Linked DNA regions of Homo sapiens: region 1 is linked to region 2. Evidence: promoter capture Hi-C in 16 types of primary human blood cells and fetal thymus (Javierre and others, 2016). All regions are on one chromosome and are shown on one strand. The core of a region is centred on a gene start or on the middle of the fragment in contact, and the rest is flanking DNA. Distances in the headings are between cores, read along the strand shown. Region 1 overlaps C9orf163 (chromosome 9 putative open reading frame 163). Region 2 holds the start of EGFL7 (EGF like domain multiple 7).

Evidence for each region. The method cuts DNA at HindIII sites, captures the fragments that hold promoters and counts their contacts. A CHiCAGO score of 5 or more calls a contact.
Region 1: a contact is called between a fragment that was not itself captured here and the fragment with the promoter of EGFL7 in region 2, in 13 of 17 cell types (M1 macrophages, activated CD4 T cells, M0 macrophages and 10 more). The highest score is 9.9, in M1 macrophages.

Annotation. Positions count from the first base shown.
Region 1 is chr9:136,485,040-136,492,416 of GRCh38, reverse strand. C9orf163 (chromosome 9 putative open reading frame 163) reads right to left here. Exons shown (of 1, transcript NR_172629.1): 1 at 6,350-7,377. Among named protein-coding and RNA genes, the nearest start is that of C9orf163, 5.2 kb to the right of the region's middle. RefSeq lists a silencer at 3,507-3,556. The HindIII fragment of the contact is 811 bases long and covers 4,357-5,167 here.
Region 2 is chr9:136,661,080-136,668,605 of GRCh38, reverse strand. EGFL7 (EGF like domain multiple 7) reads right to left here and starts at 5,690. Exons shown (of 11, transcript NM_016215.5): 1 at 5,498-5,690; 2 at 4,983-5,198; 3 at 3,821-3,914; 4 at 244-365; 5 at 1-49. The coding sequence starts at 323. The HindIII fragment of the contact is 14,697 bases long and covers 1-7,526 here.

The sequences.
Region 1 (7,377 bases), core at 3,513-6,012, 180 kb after region 2:
GGGCCCAGGGAGAGGTGGTGCGTGCACAGCCCTTCGAGTGCACTAAATGCCAATAACGCGGACACTTTTTTTTTTTTTTTTTGAGACGGAGTCTCGCTCTGTCACCCAGGCTGGAATGTGGTGGCGTGATCTTGGCTCACTGCAACCTCCGCCTCTGTGTTCAAGTGATTCTCCTGCCTCAGCCTCCAAAGTAACTGGGATTACAGGCCCCTACCACCACACCCGGCTAATTTTTTTGTATTTTTAGTAGAGATTGGGTTTCACCATGTTGGCCAGGCTGGTTTCAAACTCCTGATCTCAAGTGATCCACCCGCCTCGGCCTCTTAAAGTGCTGAGGTTACAGGCGTGAGCCACTGCACCTGGCCTAACTCGTACACTTTAAAGTGGTTAATTTTAGGTTCTGTGAGTCTCACCTCAATATGTTATTTTTTTTTTTTAATTAAAAAAAGTTTTTGAGACAGGGTCTTGCTCTGTCACCCAGGCTGGAGTGCAGTGGTGCCATGATAGCTTATTGCAGCCTCAACCTCCTGGGCCCAGGTGATCCTCCCACCTTGGTCTCTCTAGCAGCTGGGATTACAGGTGCACACCACCTCACCCACCCAATTTTTTTGTTATTTTTTGCAGAGATGGGGTCTCACTTTGTTGCCCAGGTTGGTCTCGAACTCCTGAGCTCATGCAGTCCTCTCCTCACCTTGGCCTCCCAGAGTGCTGGGATTACAGGTGTGGGCCACTGCGCCTGGCCACATATGCAACTTTAAATATTTCAGTAGCCACATTAAAAAGGTAAAAAGAAACAGGCAAAGTGTATATTAATACTACAGCTTAGTTAATCCAATATATCAAAAATATTATTTTAACACAACATAAAAAGTGAATGAGTTTTTTTTTGTTGTTTTTTGTTTTTTGAGACAGAGTCTCCCTCTGTCACCCAGGCTGGAGTGCAGTGGTGCGATCTCAGCTCACTGCAACTTCCGCCTCCCGGGTTCAAGCGATTCTCCTGCCTCAGCCTCCCGAGTAGCTGGGATTACAGGCACCTGCCACCACGCCCAGCTAATTTTTGTATTTTTAGTAGAGAGGGGGTTTCACCATGTTGGCCAGGCTGGTCTTGATCTCTTGACCTCGTGATCGGCCCACCTCGGCCTCCCAAAGTGCTGGGATTATAGGCGTAAGCCACCACGCCCGGCCGTGAATGAGATGTTTTATATTCTTTTTGTTTGTTTGTTTTTGGTACTGTGTCTTTGAAACCCAGGATGTACAGTACACTCACAGCACCCTAGATTGGGCCTGGCCACACTTTAAAAGGTGTTCAGTATCTCCAGGAGGCTCACGTCCAGATTCGGACTCTTCAGCAGGATGCCAAGGGGGCTCCAGACAGTTCCACCCAGCGCAGGAAAACACCAAGTGTATCTTCAGCCTGGTGACTCACTCCACGCCGCTGCCGGCGTGAACCCCGAGTGTGGCGCTGCGTCCCTCTGGATAGAGCAAAGGAGGGTCCCAAGAGCCCGGAGGCACCAACTCATCAGGGCCCACAAATCAGGCCCCCGGCAGGCAGGGCTGCCTCCATCCAAGAGGGAAGCACGGTGCCGTAGCCCCCGGGCTGCTCCAGGGATCGACAGGCCTGTGCTGCCTTCATCCCAAAAGTCTCACTTGCAAAGGGTGTCCGTGGGGCTCAACTGCGTGCTCAGCGGTGGACTGATTTCGTTCTGTGTGGCTCCTTATCTCATCGTGGACCCAAATCCACGAACCACACATGAGGAGCTCTGCTGGAGGGGGCAGCACTGGGCAGAGGCAGACAAGGGGGAGCGTCACGCGGCTGTTTCCCGTGGTGAGCATCCACCAGCAGCGGTTCCTGGTGGGACACCGACGTATTCGTCTGCAAAAGTAAAAGTGTTTCAAAACAAAACCGGGTCCAGCTTGGTCCCGGTGCGTTGAAAGTGCTGGCGTTGGCCAGGCGTGGTGGCTCACGCCTGTAATCCCAGCACTTTGGGAGGCTGAGGCGGGTGGATCACAAGGTCAGGAGATTGAGACCATCCTGGCTAACACGGTGAAACCCCGTCTCTACTAAAAAATACAAAAAATTAGCCGGGCGTGGTGGCAGGCGCCTGTAGTCCTAGCTACTTGGGAGGCTGAGGCAGGAGAATGGCGTGAACCTGGGAGGCGGAGCTTGCAGTGAGCAGAGATCATGCCTCTGCACTCCAGCCTGGGCGACAGAGCAAGACACTCTCACAAAAAAAAAAAAAAAAAAAAAAAAAAAAAAAAAAAGTGCTGGCGTTAGTGGAGGTCTCTCAGAGGGGGCGTTGCAGGGCCTCCCACGTTACTCAGGCTTTGCAGACGAAGACGCAGGGTCAGTGAGTGAGCGAGCTTTGGGAAAGGCTGTTCTTCAATCTGCATCTTGAAGGTGGCTGGGTGGCGCCTCAGTCGCCTGCCCCGACGTGACTCCCGATCTGGCTGCTTTGTGTCTTTGCTTTCCACCTGGCGGCTGCTGTCCTGGCTGTTGCTGTACCTCAGTGTCCTCGTGGGTCAAGTGGGGACCTGGGTGCTGGCCCTGGGCCTGCGATGGTGAGCTGCTGGTGCACGCTGGGCATGGGGTGAGGGCTCAGAAAGGGAACAGCTCTTGTTATCGTTAGGAGGTTTTCAATCGCATTCTTTGTTCTCCACCTGCATGCCGTGTTGGCACAGTTAAGCCTGGCGGCCCCTTCAGCAGGTGTCCTAACCGTCTACATTTTAAGATGGACAAGTCTAGGCTCATGGAGATTGCAGGACTGAGCTGCGAAGCTTTATTCATGCCCAACACGACAGGTGCCAGGTGCCCAGGGCCTCAGAGGTGGGTTTCCGTTGTTCTTCACACAACCTTGAACTTGTGGCCCATCCCTGGACCTTACAGCACAGGACACACTCTCAGTGTTTGTTAGGAATCTATAATTTTCTGCGGAGTCACGCGTGATATTTGCTGTGGCTTTTGGTATATCTTCCACTCTATCGCACGGGATTTTCTGGTGAAAATGTGCCCTGGGTCCACACAAACGTGCACATTCTACCACAGCCTTTGTCGTTCTGTTTGGCATTTTTCCATTTAATAAAATGAACCTTAGAAAAGTTATAACTACGGCCAGGCGTGGTGGCTCACACCTGTCATCCCAGCACTTCGGGAGGCCGAGGCGAGAGGATCACCTGTGGTCAGGAGTTCCACACCAGCCTGGTCAACTGGTGAAACCCCCCTCTCCACTAAAAATACAAAAATTAGCTGGGCACCATGGTGGGCACCTAGAATCTCAGCTACTTGGGGGGGCTGAGGCAGGAGAATTGCTTGAATTCGGAAGGAGGAGGTTGCAGTGAGCTGAGATTGCACCACTGCACTCCAGCCTGGGGGATACAGTGAGACTCGGTCTCAAAAAAAAAAAAGAAAAGTGTATAACTTTACTTTTTTTTCTTTTTGTGGAGATGGAATCTTGCTATGTTGCCCAGGCTGGTCTCAAACCCCTAGGTTCAAGTGATCCTCCCACTTTGGCCTCCCAAAATGCTGAGACGACAGATGGGAGCAACCTCACCTGGCAAGCGTGCACCTGTTACTTTGGCCGACTCAGAGGCGGCTCTCTGCCTCCCCCTGGTGGCACTGCTCTGCCAGCGCCCCACAGGTCCTCCCGAGTGACCACAGGGCAGAAATGGCCCTCACCCCACGCCCAGGGCCATCCCCCGCGACACTGCTATTATCCTGTTTTACACATGAGGAAGCTGGGGCTCAAAGAGGTTAGGCGACTTAGCCAAGTTCGCCCATTCACTGAGCCAGGGCTATGTGATTCCCGGTCCGTGTCAAACCACGAGGAGTCACCTGCCCTCAGAGGAGCAGGAAGGCCTGTAGAGTTGATGCCATCCAGCCTGGTGACTTTTCAGACAGGGAGACGGCTGCTCAGAGGGGAGAAGGGGGTTGTTGGGCCACTTTGCCAGGAGTCAATACCATGGCCAGCCTGGCATCGGATACTTTGCCAGGAGTTAATGCCACGACTGGCCTGGCATCGAATACTGGAGCTCTTCCCAGCTCCACCCGGGCCCTTTTCTCTTCCCTATCTACAGTCCCCAGGCCACCAAGTCCATGTCCACCACTTAAATCATCACTCAATGCTCAGGACTGTCTCCTGCCTGCTGTGTGTGAACCCCGTGCTGTGCTGGGGTTGTGCCCTCGGGGACTCTCCCGGGTTCTTGGGGACTCTCCTGGGTTCAGCGCCTCTTTCTCCTAGGCCACCCAAGGCTGCCTCCTGGGCCCTGGCTCTCCCTAGCCCCTAGCTCGAACCCTAACCTGGAGAGCCTTTGGGGCCCAAACTGGTTGCATCGCTCCTGGCTGAAAAGCCTCTGGAAGCTTCCTATACTTCCAGACACCACCTGCGGGTCTCTTAGCAAGCCTACAGAGTCCACACTAGCCTACGCCCACTGGCCGCTCACCCCGCAGAAGCCTCATGTGGACTGTTCACTTCAGCCAGAAATGCTCCTTCTCCTCCTGCCTGTCCCCAGCAGACACTGCATGGTGCCCTCTGTATGGGCACCTCTGTGGCCAGCCAGCATCCATGTTCCCCGGAGGCAGAGTCTGGGCTTGTCTGTCTCACGGCCACAGCCCAGCTCCTAGCAGTGCCTGGGGTACAGCAGGGACTCAGCAGACATCTGTGCATGGTTTGGGGATAGAGGACTCGTGAGCTTACCAAGACCCTGCCTCAGCTCAAGGACAGCCAGCAGTTCCTCCTGTGGCCCTGGGGGCCTGCGGTCCCAGGTTACTGTGACATCGACATCAGCCTTGAGCTTTCTGCTTCATTCCTAGTGCTTTTTAGCACCTTACATGGTAAGTACTTGGCTCAATGATTCCAGAAAAATGTTCTCTGAGACCTGCTATGTGCCCAACATGCTTGAAGATGCTGGAGATGAGGAGCATGACGCTCCTGCAGTAACGAGGCTGCTGGCAATGCCGTCAATGTGCCCTGTGCCTCCGGGGAGGCCTGGTGTGGAGGATACGCTTGCCACCCTGTGAGGTCAGGTCCAGGAAGTCCTTGCAGGAGGCCGGGAAAGGGCAAGGCTGTCACCTTCTTTTACAGGGGAGGAGGCAGAGGCTTGGAAAGGCCAGGTAGCTTGCCCAAGGCTGAACACCTGGGTAGTGGCTGAGGGTCTCTGACTTCTGGAAGCTTGCAGTACAGCTGGACACACGGTAGTTAGCCCACCATTGCTGGAGCCATCTTACCTGTGCTCTGCTAGCCAGGTGGGCGCCCAAAAGGAGATGCCTTTGCCTGTGCTGGGAGGAGGCGCTGTGGGACCCATTCCCCAGCAGCCGAGAGCAAGGGCACATGTGCCAGGGCGGGGATGCACCTTCAGCCTCATGTCAGCCCTGGGAAGGCCTAGAAAGTGGACAGTGCTGTCTCGCTGCACACCCCTGGCGAGCACACCGGGCGAGCACTCCAGGTTAGGGTGGGGCTCAGAGGTGAGTAGAACACGGGAAGGGGGTGGCAGCGTGGTGAGCATGTTTGCGGACCCTATGCTGTGTGCTTGGCAGGCCTTGTGCATGGAAGTGAGTGGGACTGAAGCTCCCTCCACACTGCCCACCATGGCCCTGGGGGTCTGGCCTTCCCCTCACAGAGGTGACTTCCTCTCCTCTATGAGGGTAAGAAGAGGAAGCCTGGCCCACCCTCTGGCCAGCCTGGTGGCATGCTGACAGGGAACCCCTGCAGGGGCCTGATGAACAAACGCCACAGAACAAACTCTACGGACCCTGCCTCCAGATCTGCTTCCTCTCCCCTGATTCCAGCTTCCCAGCCCTATTCCCTCCTCCTCCAGGAAGAGCTCCGTGTCAGTGCTCTCCACCTTGGAGGCCTTCATATGTTTTTTTGCCTGGACCACCCAGCTAACCGTCTCACAGAGACTGCCCCTTCCTCTCTCCAGGCCAAGCCTCCAGCTTCAGCGTCCAGGACTAAGGGTCTGTGTCAGGGGCTGAGGACAGTGTCCGGCAGGGAGCAGGCCTGCCCAGTAAACCTCCACAAGCACCCAGACATACTCGCCACTGCTATTTTACACCAGGTAGGAAAGAGGAGCAGAAGCTCACAGTGAGGGGCCGTCCTGCGTTCACTGAGACTGCTGCTCTGCTGGGGGCTCCCTGGAGGACCGCCACTGGCCCGCCAGTTGTCAGCAAAGAGCCAGGTCCACCCATCAGCCTCTGGCATTTCAGGCCCCTATCATAGGAGGCTATAAGCACAGGCTAGGGGTGCTGAGTGCCTGCCTTCTAGACCAACACTGTCCAGTGGAAATGTAACACCAGCCCCATGTGGAGTTTTACATTTCCCAGCAGCTATGTCAAAAACAAAAGAAACAGGTGAAATAAAATTAAATAGTATTTTGTTTAATCTGATACATCCAAGATATTGTCATTTTAATATGCAATAAAAAATGATTGATTCGATATTTGCATCCTTCACAACCTACCATGTAGTTTACACTCAGAGCCCAGCTCAGTCTCACAGCAAGCACCAGCGGCCCCCGTGCTGGACAGCATGGCTAATGGGAGGAGCTGACCCGTCGGAGGCACCAAGGTCACGCTGTGACCAAGGCTGTGGTGACGCAAAGGCAGCGGGTTTCCTGGCACAGCCTGGAGGTGCACCAGCCTGTCCTGTGTGCTCTGCATAATGTGGTACAGCAGTGGTCACAGAGCTTTGCACCAGATGCTGATTCCAGCCCACCTAGGGGGGTTCAGGGAAGTGGTGACACTTGTGTCCAGCCTCCAGGTGTGAGCAGGGGCAGAGACTTGGAGAATGGAGAAACCAGCGGATGCTGCAGGCAAAAGCAGCAAAGCCCCACCAGGAATAGTGATGGCCACCACCGGCGGGACACCTCCCAGCACTGGGTGGAGGCCTCTGCTGGCTCGCAGTCAGTCACCTGATGTCCCCATTCGCCCCTGCCATGCTTGTTGTCCTGGCAACCCCATTTCAGCCCTGAAACGTTTAGGTGCTCATCTTGCTCTATCTTAGAGATGAAGACCTGATGCTCAGAGACTAAGGAAGTTGAAAAAGGGCACACAGCGTCTCAGGGGCAGGCTGGGCCTTCAACGGAAGGGTCTATGGCCCAGAGGCTGGATGGGCTCGGGTGTAGGGTGCAGGAACCCTCCACTCCACATCAGGCTACAAACTGCTGAGAGCTGTCTCCGTGCACTCAGGATTAGGGAGAAGAGGGGGAAGAAAGACAGCCGCGCCCCCTGCAGGTGATGTGGTGATTCACACCCCTAGGAGCCAACAGAAGCCGCTGTCTAACATCCCTGCCCTGAGGTCCAGAGACCTTGCATTTTATGCCTAGGGCAGGGTTGGTTTCTGCAGCTATGGTCTCTCCCATAGCTTAGTGCCCACCCCGGTGGGA
Region 2 (7,526 bases), core at 4,441-6,940:
CGACTCGGAGACAGGGTCCCCGTGAGCCCGGACAGCACACACCCTACGGCTGCGGGGGTGGAGAGGGGGTCAGCCCAGGAGTCCCAGAGCAGGACCCAAGAATGATGGGAACATGTGGCCGGGGCAGGACCCTCAGCAGGAGCCCCCAGGGAGTCCCCGACAGGTGCTGAGGGCCGCCTCTAGGAGGTGCTGAGGGCTCCCGGTCCCCCCACCCCAGCACTCCCAGGCTAGGGCTTGGCTCACCCGGGCCGGTAGGCGTGCTCTGTGCCGCCCACTGCCAACACCAGAAGCCACATCAGCAGCACCTCCTGAGAGCCCCTCATGGCCTGTGCCTCCAGGCGGGGTGGCCTTCTCCTCTGGGTGGCCTGGGGCACAAAGCATGACCCCTAAGTCTCCCCGCAGATGCCCCCAGGACGCGGGTGCAGTTTGCACTTGCTCCGCGAGGCCTGCCCAGCTCATCTCCGCTGGAGCCTCCACCGGTGGGACAGCCCCACGGTGGCGCCCACTCTCTCCTCCGCTGGCCCCCTCTTCCAGCTAGCCAGACCCTCGCCAGGCACAAACAGCTGGGGCCACAGCCTGGGGGCACAGGGGGGGTGACGCTGTCCAGAGCTCTTGGTGCAGGAATCGAGTGGATCCTGCTGGGCATCTGCCCGAGGCTCCGGGAAGGATGGCTCCAGCTACGGGTGGCCGTTTCTCCTGTCCTGCCTGGTTCCAGGGCCCTCCTCACAGCAGGGCAGGGGTGAGTTTGCACCCCAGTCTATGCAAACGGGGTGTTCGTGGGCAGAGCTGGGATCCAGCCCCACCAGGGACCTGCCGGCCTCAGCCCTTCTGGAATTTGATTTCTCATCTGAGTGTGGAACCGGCCCCAGCAGGTGGGCCAGCAGCTGCAAGCCAGCAGGAACCGTGCGGAGGGTGCACACATTCTAAGACCACCAGAGGGGCGGCCTTCATTTTAGAGGGGGTCCTTCCCAGGCTGGGATATGTGTGCAATCAGCCTCCAGGGATCCTGGGACAGTGGCTGTGCCAGGTGCACACCTGGGGGTGAGGAGCAGCCCCCGACAGTGTCACCGGAACCGGAATCCAACCCCCTCCTGGCTGTGCAGCAGGAGCCAGGGGCCCGGGTGAGGCTTCCTGAGAGCATGAGAGCCCAGAATTAATGGTCTGTGGCAATGCCGGGGATGGGGATTCTGTCCTATGCGCAGCCAGGGGTCTGGAGACCTGGCGAGCCCCTGCCATGCTGCAGGGTCCCACCCAGGGCCTCTCACGGGTGCTTCCCAAAGGCTGGGTGGGTTCCTTCCGAGGCACTGCAGGGCCCTCCGCAGGGAAAGGCCAGGCTTCGGGTCGGGGCAGAGGCTGGGGTAAGGCTGTCCCTTCTCTGGGATTCAGTTTCCTCACACACTAGAATAGGGTCTCTGAGGCCCCTCCTCAGCTCTGACAGCCAGTCCTATAAATAGTCACACTGTCCTCAGTCGCTGCTGGCCAGCCCCACTGGGTGTGGAGCACGATCCCACACCTGCTTCCCACGGGCACTGCCAAGGCATCACCCGGTCCCAGCGGGGAGGGTGGCTGGGGGTCCTTCCTGGGCCTCCAGTCCTCTGTGCGCTGGAGAGAGGAGGGCAGGGCAGAGGCTGCCAACTAGGCAGAGGCTGCCCTGGGCAGCTGAGGGGTGGGGACTTAGCTTGGGGGCAGGGGGGGCATCACAGCAGTTTTTGGGCAGGAGTTTGTCGAGGGGGCAGAGCTGGCTGGAGATTAACTCTGGGGATGGGCCCTGGATGAAGGACACTGTTAGGGGCTGGGTCTGGTGCGACCTCAAGGCAAGACTCGAAGTCGGGGGACATTGGGGAGTGGGACCCGGGAAGGAAGAGGTAGGGCAGCGGCCCGGCGGCTTGATGTGGGCAGGGGGATGCCAGGGCGGGCCTGGGGGTAGGCGAATCTCCCAGACCTCATTGCCCCCCACACATATTGGCACAGCTCCCCCCCACAATTCCTGAGAGTCGCCTGGACAGGAAGCGGTGCTAAGTGGAGACTCAATTTTTGAAAGTCATGTTTTCCCGAGGCCAGAGGAAGCCCGTGGTGCTCTCCGAGCCGGTGCTGCAAGCCCCATTTCCCCGGGGGGGGCCACGGCCTCGACCCAGGGGTGCCGGGCGGGGAGGGGGCGGCGGCGCCAGGTGGACCAGCAGTCCGGTCCCCGTGCCCCCAGCGCCCACGGGCTCCCTCCCCACCTGCCCGGCAGCAGCCCCGCAGCCCCCACCCGCGAGAGGCCGGGTCCGCAGAGGGAGGGGCCTGGCTGCGCCGCAGGCACTGGCGGACCCCTCGCGGCGGGAGCAGGGCTGGGGACCGCGGGGCCCACGAGGGAGGGCGCAGAGGCGGAGCGAGACGGACCTGCCCGCCGCCCCCTCCCAGCCGCGCTGCTGGCTCCGGGGTTCGCGGGGGGCGGAGCAGGCGGCACAGGCTGGGCCCCGAGGCGCTGAGTCGCGCCGGGTCGGACGAGGGGCCGCGGCGACCCCGGCCCTCCCCGCCGCGCCGCCCGCCCGCCCGCCGCCGGCAGGGGGAGCCGGTTCCCGGGGCCGCTGGGCCCATTCTCCCGGCCCGGCCCGACCCAGCCGCGGGCGCCCCGGCCCGCTCCGCCCCCGGCCCCAGCGGTCGCGCTGCCTCGTCCCGGAGCCGCCCCCAGCTCCGCGCGCGGCCAGGTTCCCCGCCCCCGGGGGCTCCGCGGGTCCCGCCCTCGACCCAGCCCGGGCGGCGACCGGACCCCGACCCCGGCGCGCCCCGCTCGCTCCGCACTCACCGCCGGATCCGGGGCGCGCACGCGCCGCCGCCACTGCCGCCCGAGCCCGCGCCGTGGGGGCCCCGAGCCCCGCCCCGCCCCGCCCCCGGCCCCGCCCCACCTGGCGGCCCCGCCCCGCCCCCATTGCGCAGACGGGGAAACTGAGGCCCCGCGGCGGACGAGCTGCCCCCGGGCGGGCAGTGACTCTGCTGGAACCCGGGGCTGACGCAAACGCGCCTCTGAGCCGCGGCCCGCCAGCACCCCCTCCGGGAATCCTGGGGCCCGAGTCCCCGCGGCAGGGCGCTCGCTGCGCGGTCGCTGGGGACGCACGACCAAGCCCGGCCGCCAGGAGCCAGGAGAGGCCGCCCAGGGCGCCCACACTGACGGGGCTGCGGGCCCTTTGCTAGCTTTCAAGCCCCCCAGGCTGAAAACCACCCCGGGACGCCCATCTCAGCCGCTGGGGGGCCGCGCGGTAGGCGCCCGGCGCAGGTTAGCACTGAGCTGGGTCCTGCAGCCTCGCAGGCAGTGGGCATCATGACCGTCCCCACCGCAGGCCCAGAGACCCAGATCTCCTCTGAGACCACATGGCAGAGCCCAGGCCTGCCTCCTAGCCTTAGCGTGTTAGGTTGGGGGCCCCTGCGCCGGCCCCCACCTGGCCCTCTCTCAGGCATCAGGCACCCTCACCGGGGTCACTGGGTCACTGCTGAGTTCAGCACAGTCAGGGCCATCGCAGAACACTCCTCCCAGCGAATCCACAGGCCCCCAGAGAGTCTCCTCACACCAGAGGTCCCTGGGCTGGTCACCTCTCTTCTCCAGGCCTCCATTTCCAAATTTATAAGATGGGGCTAAACAGCCCTGGGATCTAGTGACGGTGAGGTCGTGGCCACACAACAATTGTTACAGCTGTTACTGCGGGCGCGGCACGTGGGGCTCGGGCCAGCCCAATTCAGCAGCCCCTCAGACCCCAGCCGGAGCCAGCGCCCTGTGTCATAACCCGCGTGGGCGCCGGTGTGAGAAGTGTTCCCTCGGAGCAAGGGGTTTGCTGGGACTCACCTGGCGGAGGAGAATCAGTCATCCCCCGGACAGGGGCAGGAGCTGCTCCTCCGGGTGGTGGGGGCCACCTGTGCCTCCCCGGTCCTGGGGGCTGCTGGTTGGAGAGGAGTTGTGGGTTAGTGCCTATGCACAGTCCTGGTCACCCTGATGTCTGGGGGCTGGGAAGGGGCCCGGGACCAGCTTTCGGTGCTGCTGTGGGACCTCCGCCTGCACTAGGCCTACAGGCCCCTGTCCTGCACCTACCCCGACCCCATCCTGTCCTGAGCTGATTGTCCTCTCGGATCCGCAGCCCCTGGCCTCAGTAAAATGGGGTTATTGCCTCCAGCCCTGGACTCCCTGGCATGGGGATGGGAGGCTGCTGTGAGTGGAGCTGGAGGTCTCTCCATGTAACCCAGGGTGCTGGGCAAGGGGCCTGCAGATGGGTCCGAGAGGGCCACCAGCTTGGTCCTACCTTGGTGCATGGGAGCTGGAGGAAGGGAGGGGCCCAGGTCCCTGGAGAGGAGTCCCCAAAATGAGGCCGCCCCACCCTGCAATCCAGTGGCCACTGCTCTGGACCAGGGGCCCTGGAAGCCCCTGGCACGTGGTCCAAGGGACGACCAGAGCAGCTGCTGTCAGGGGGCGTTCCTCATCTGACTGGGGAGTCCTAGGCCTCCTGGCGCCCTGAGCCCACGCAGGGCAGCTCTTACCTAGCCCCCAGCAGTGAAGTGTTCAGAGTGGGGCCTAGGGGGCCTCTGGGTGGGAGAGCCACCGCCACCCTCCCTGTCCCCTGCCCCTGGCCTCATCTCTGGATCTGCGGTCACTTAACCCTTTGACCTGCCTCCCCACCTCTCCTGCCTGAGTCTGGAAGAGGCGATGGAGCAGAAAGGGCAGCTCCAGGGCTGCCCCGACTCAGCCCTCGCTGCCCCCATCCTGGCTAGGCACCATTTGGAAAGTGGGGGTTCTCAGACAGGCTTCTTGGTGTGGACGTATGAGACAAAAAGTGGGGCCTTCTAGGACCCACTGTGGTTTTGGGGGCTTTGGGATGGGGCTTCAGCCACTCTGCATGAGGCTGGGGAGAGGGAGAACAAGGGCGTCTCCAGGGTCCAAGGGGGGCCCACAGAGTCACCCATTTGCCCACCGCACCCAGCAAGTCATCCCTAAGCCCGAGCCCCACGTCCCGCACCCTGGATTCACACTGCTCATCCTGGCTACAGATGTGGCTTTGGGGTTCCTCTCCCTCGGGGCCAGTTCCCCTCCCCGGGCCCCCGTTGGGTTGCTCATCCACTGCTAGGGAGAAGATGAGGAGACCTCAGCCCTCGGGACACCGCAGGGCGTAGCGCGAAGCCCCTCACAGCGGGCCCAGCCAAGCTGAACTTTGCTGCCAACCACAGGGGCTGCTCTGCGGAGGGAGAGAAAGGCCAGAGGGTGGGGTTCAGGGGAAGGGCGACTGGGGGTGAAGTGTTGGAGTCAGCAGACTGGATTGGGATCTACGCTGGGCCACCCACTAGCAGGCGTTTGGCCAAGGGGCCTCAGTGGCCTCCTCTGTGCAGAAGGGGAGGAGACTGGGACCCCTCCCCTGTGACCTCGCTGGGGAGCAGATTGCGGAGCAGCCAGCAGGCGCCACGGTCAGCGGGAGTGAGGGGAATGGGGGGCCCGCCCTGTCCGCTCCCTGCCCCTCCGAGGCCACCCCTGCCATACCTGATGCTGCTGGAGCCCAGGCGTGGCCATGGTGGCCGCTGCTGTGTCCTGGGACTGGAGATGGACCCTAGCCCTTGCTGGGGCCTCAGGCCCACTGGCCGCCTGGAGGCACCTCCTGAGGCCCACCTGCCTGGCCTGTCCACAGGAGCCTCCCTTGCAGCCGTGCAGGGCCAGCTTGGTGCAGGGAGGCTCCCCCCGGGCGAGGAAGGGCGGCTTTTTATGCTCCGTCCTGGGTAATCGGGATTGGGATGGGCCCTTCCCAGCCGGACTTCCTGTGTGTGTTCTCCGCTGATAACGGGGACGTGTCGTCGGACAAACAGGAGGCTGAGGGGGGTGGGGGCCACCGTGTGAGGGGGCCTGGACAAACTGCCCAGGGGTGGGGAAGCCGTCCCCTGGGCCATCAGAGTCTAGCCCCAAAACAGCCAGAAACCAGGGCTGGACCCTGCTGGAGACCCTGGGGAGAGTGTGGGGTGGAGGACGCAAGCCCAGGGCCCTCCCAGGACCGTGGGTTCACAGGCCATGCTCACGTGTGGCTGGACAGAAGGGAGCTGCTGCATCTTTGGGCCAAGGATGCTGGGCCCTCCCCCAGGACACCCCCAGATGTGTGTGACACAGCACGGGAGCTTGGAGGGGCCCCAGGCCAAGGCAGGGACCAGCCACACAGGAGCCTTGACCAGTGAGGGATGGCGAGTGGCGAGGCCCGGCAGGAAGGGACTGGGGTGGCAAGACAGGCTGAGCGGTCCGAGAACAGCCTGTTCCGTGGGTCCCTGAGGCCCATGGTGAGGGGGTGACGGGAGGGGACAAGCATGGAGTCCAAGCTCTCTCCCCTAAAAGAGCTGCCAGTGAGGCTGTGAGCCCCTGCCCTGGAGATGGGCAAGCAGGCCCAATGCCCTCAGCCCCACTTCACAGGGGTGCTCTGGGCTGGCAGCAGGCTGCGGCCGGGGGTGTGGGGAGGGATGCGGGACACTGTGGGTGATCACAGGGGGTGCTCTGTCAGATTCCCGGCGTCCCAGCCTCCAGGTCTGACCCTCATCTTCCCTGTTCACACGGCAGTGGGAGCCTCAGGCCGAGCGAGCCACTGTGGCAAAGGTGGGCTGGGTGGGAGGGGACACGGTGCCGAAGGGAGCTGGGTGGCTTTGGAGGGCACGCCTGGAACCCCAGGAGAGCAGGGCCTCTCCCAACCCCGCTGTCCGTGGGGTGTGAGCCCTGCTTTGGGGTCAGCCCCTGTCGGCCTGATGCCTGGGACACCCCCATTTCCCTGGCCCTGGGCGGTCAGTGTGCCCCCACCTCTCCAGCCCCACTCAGCTGGGCAACTTGAGCCAAGGGAGGCTGGGGCAGCTGGGGAAATTCCCCACGGGACTTTGGAGGGCAGGTGGAAACCTCACCCACACGCGATGCGCCTCCCCCTCAAGCAGGAACCAGCTCCCCTCTACCCACGGCCAGGGGAAGGGTCTGCTCTGGGCGCCAGGCTGTGGTCAGGGCTCAGGGCCTCAGCCAGGCAGGACCTCACTCTTCTCCGGGCCTGTTTCTGCACCTGCTTCATGGTCACTGAGCTGGTTTAAGGGGGCGCTCCTGGCACCCAGGCACCGCTGGTCTGAGCGGGAGGGGCCTCTTTCCAGAGGTGGCCCCTGCCCTGAGGTTGGAGCAGATAGGCAGAACCCCATTTCCCCACCTCCTCCACACTAGGCCACCCTGGGATCTGGCCCTTACCCTACTGGCTGCACCCTCAGCCGCCCTGTGCCTCCCTCGGCCCCCTGGCTCTCCCACCCAGGGGCTCATCCTGCCCTGGCCAGCCTGTCCCTCCAGCTGTCAGGAGGGGGTTGCAGTGAAGAACAAGTTGGCAGCAGGCCGGGCCCAGTCCCCCAGGCTGTCACCCAGGAGTCCAGTGCCAGGAGGACAGCCTGGGGAGGACCCAGACTCTGCCCTCGCCCCTGGCTGTAAGCACAGCAGTCAGTTCACCGGGAAGGCCCCCAGCGGGCCAAGCCTTAGCAACTCGTGCACTCGGCTACTTAGCTACTCCACCGTATAG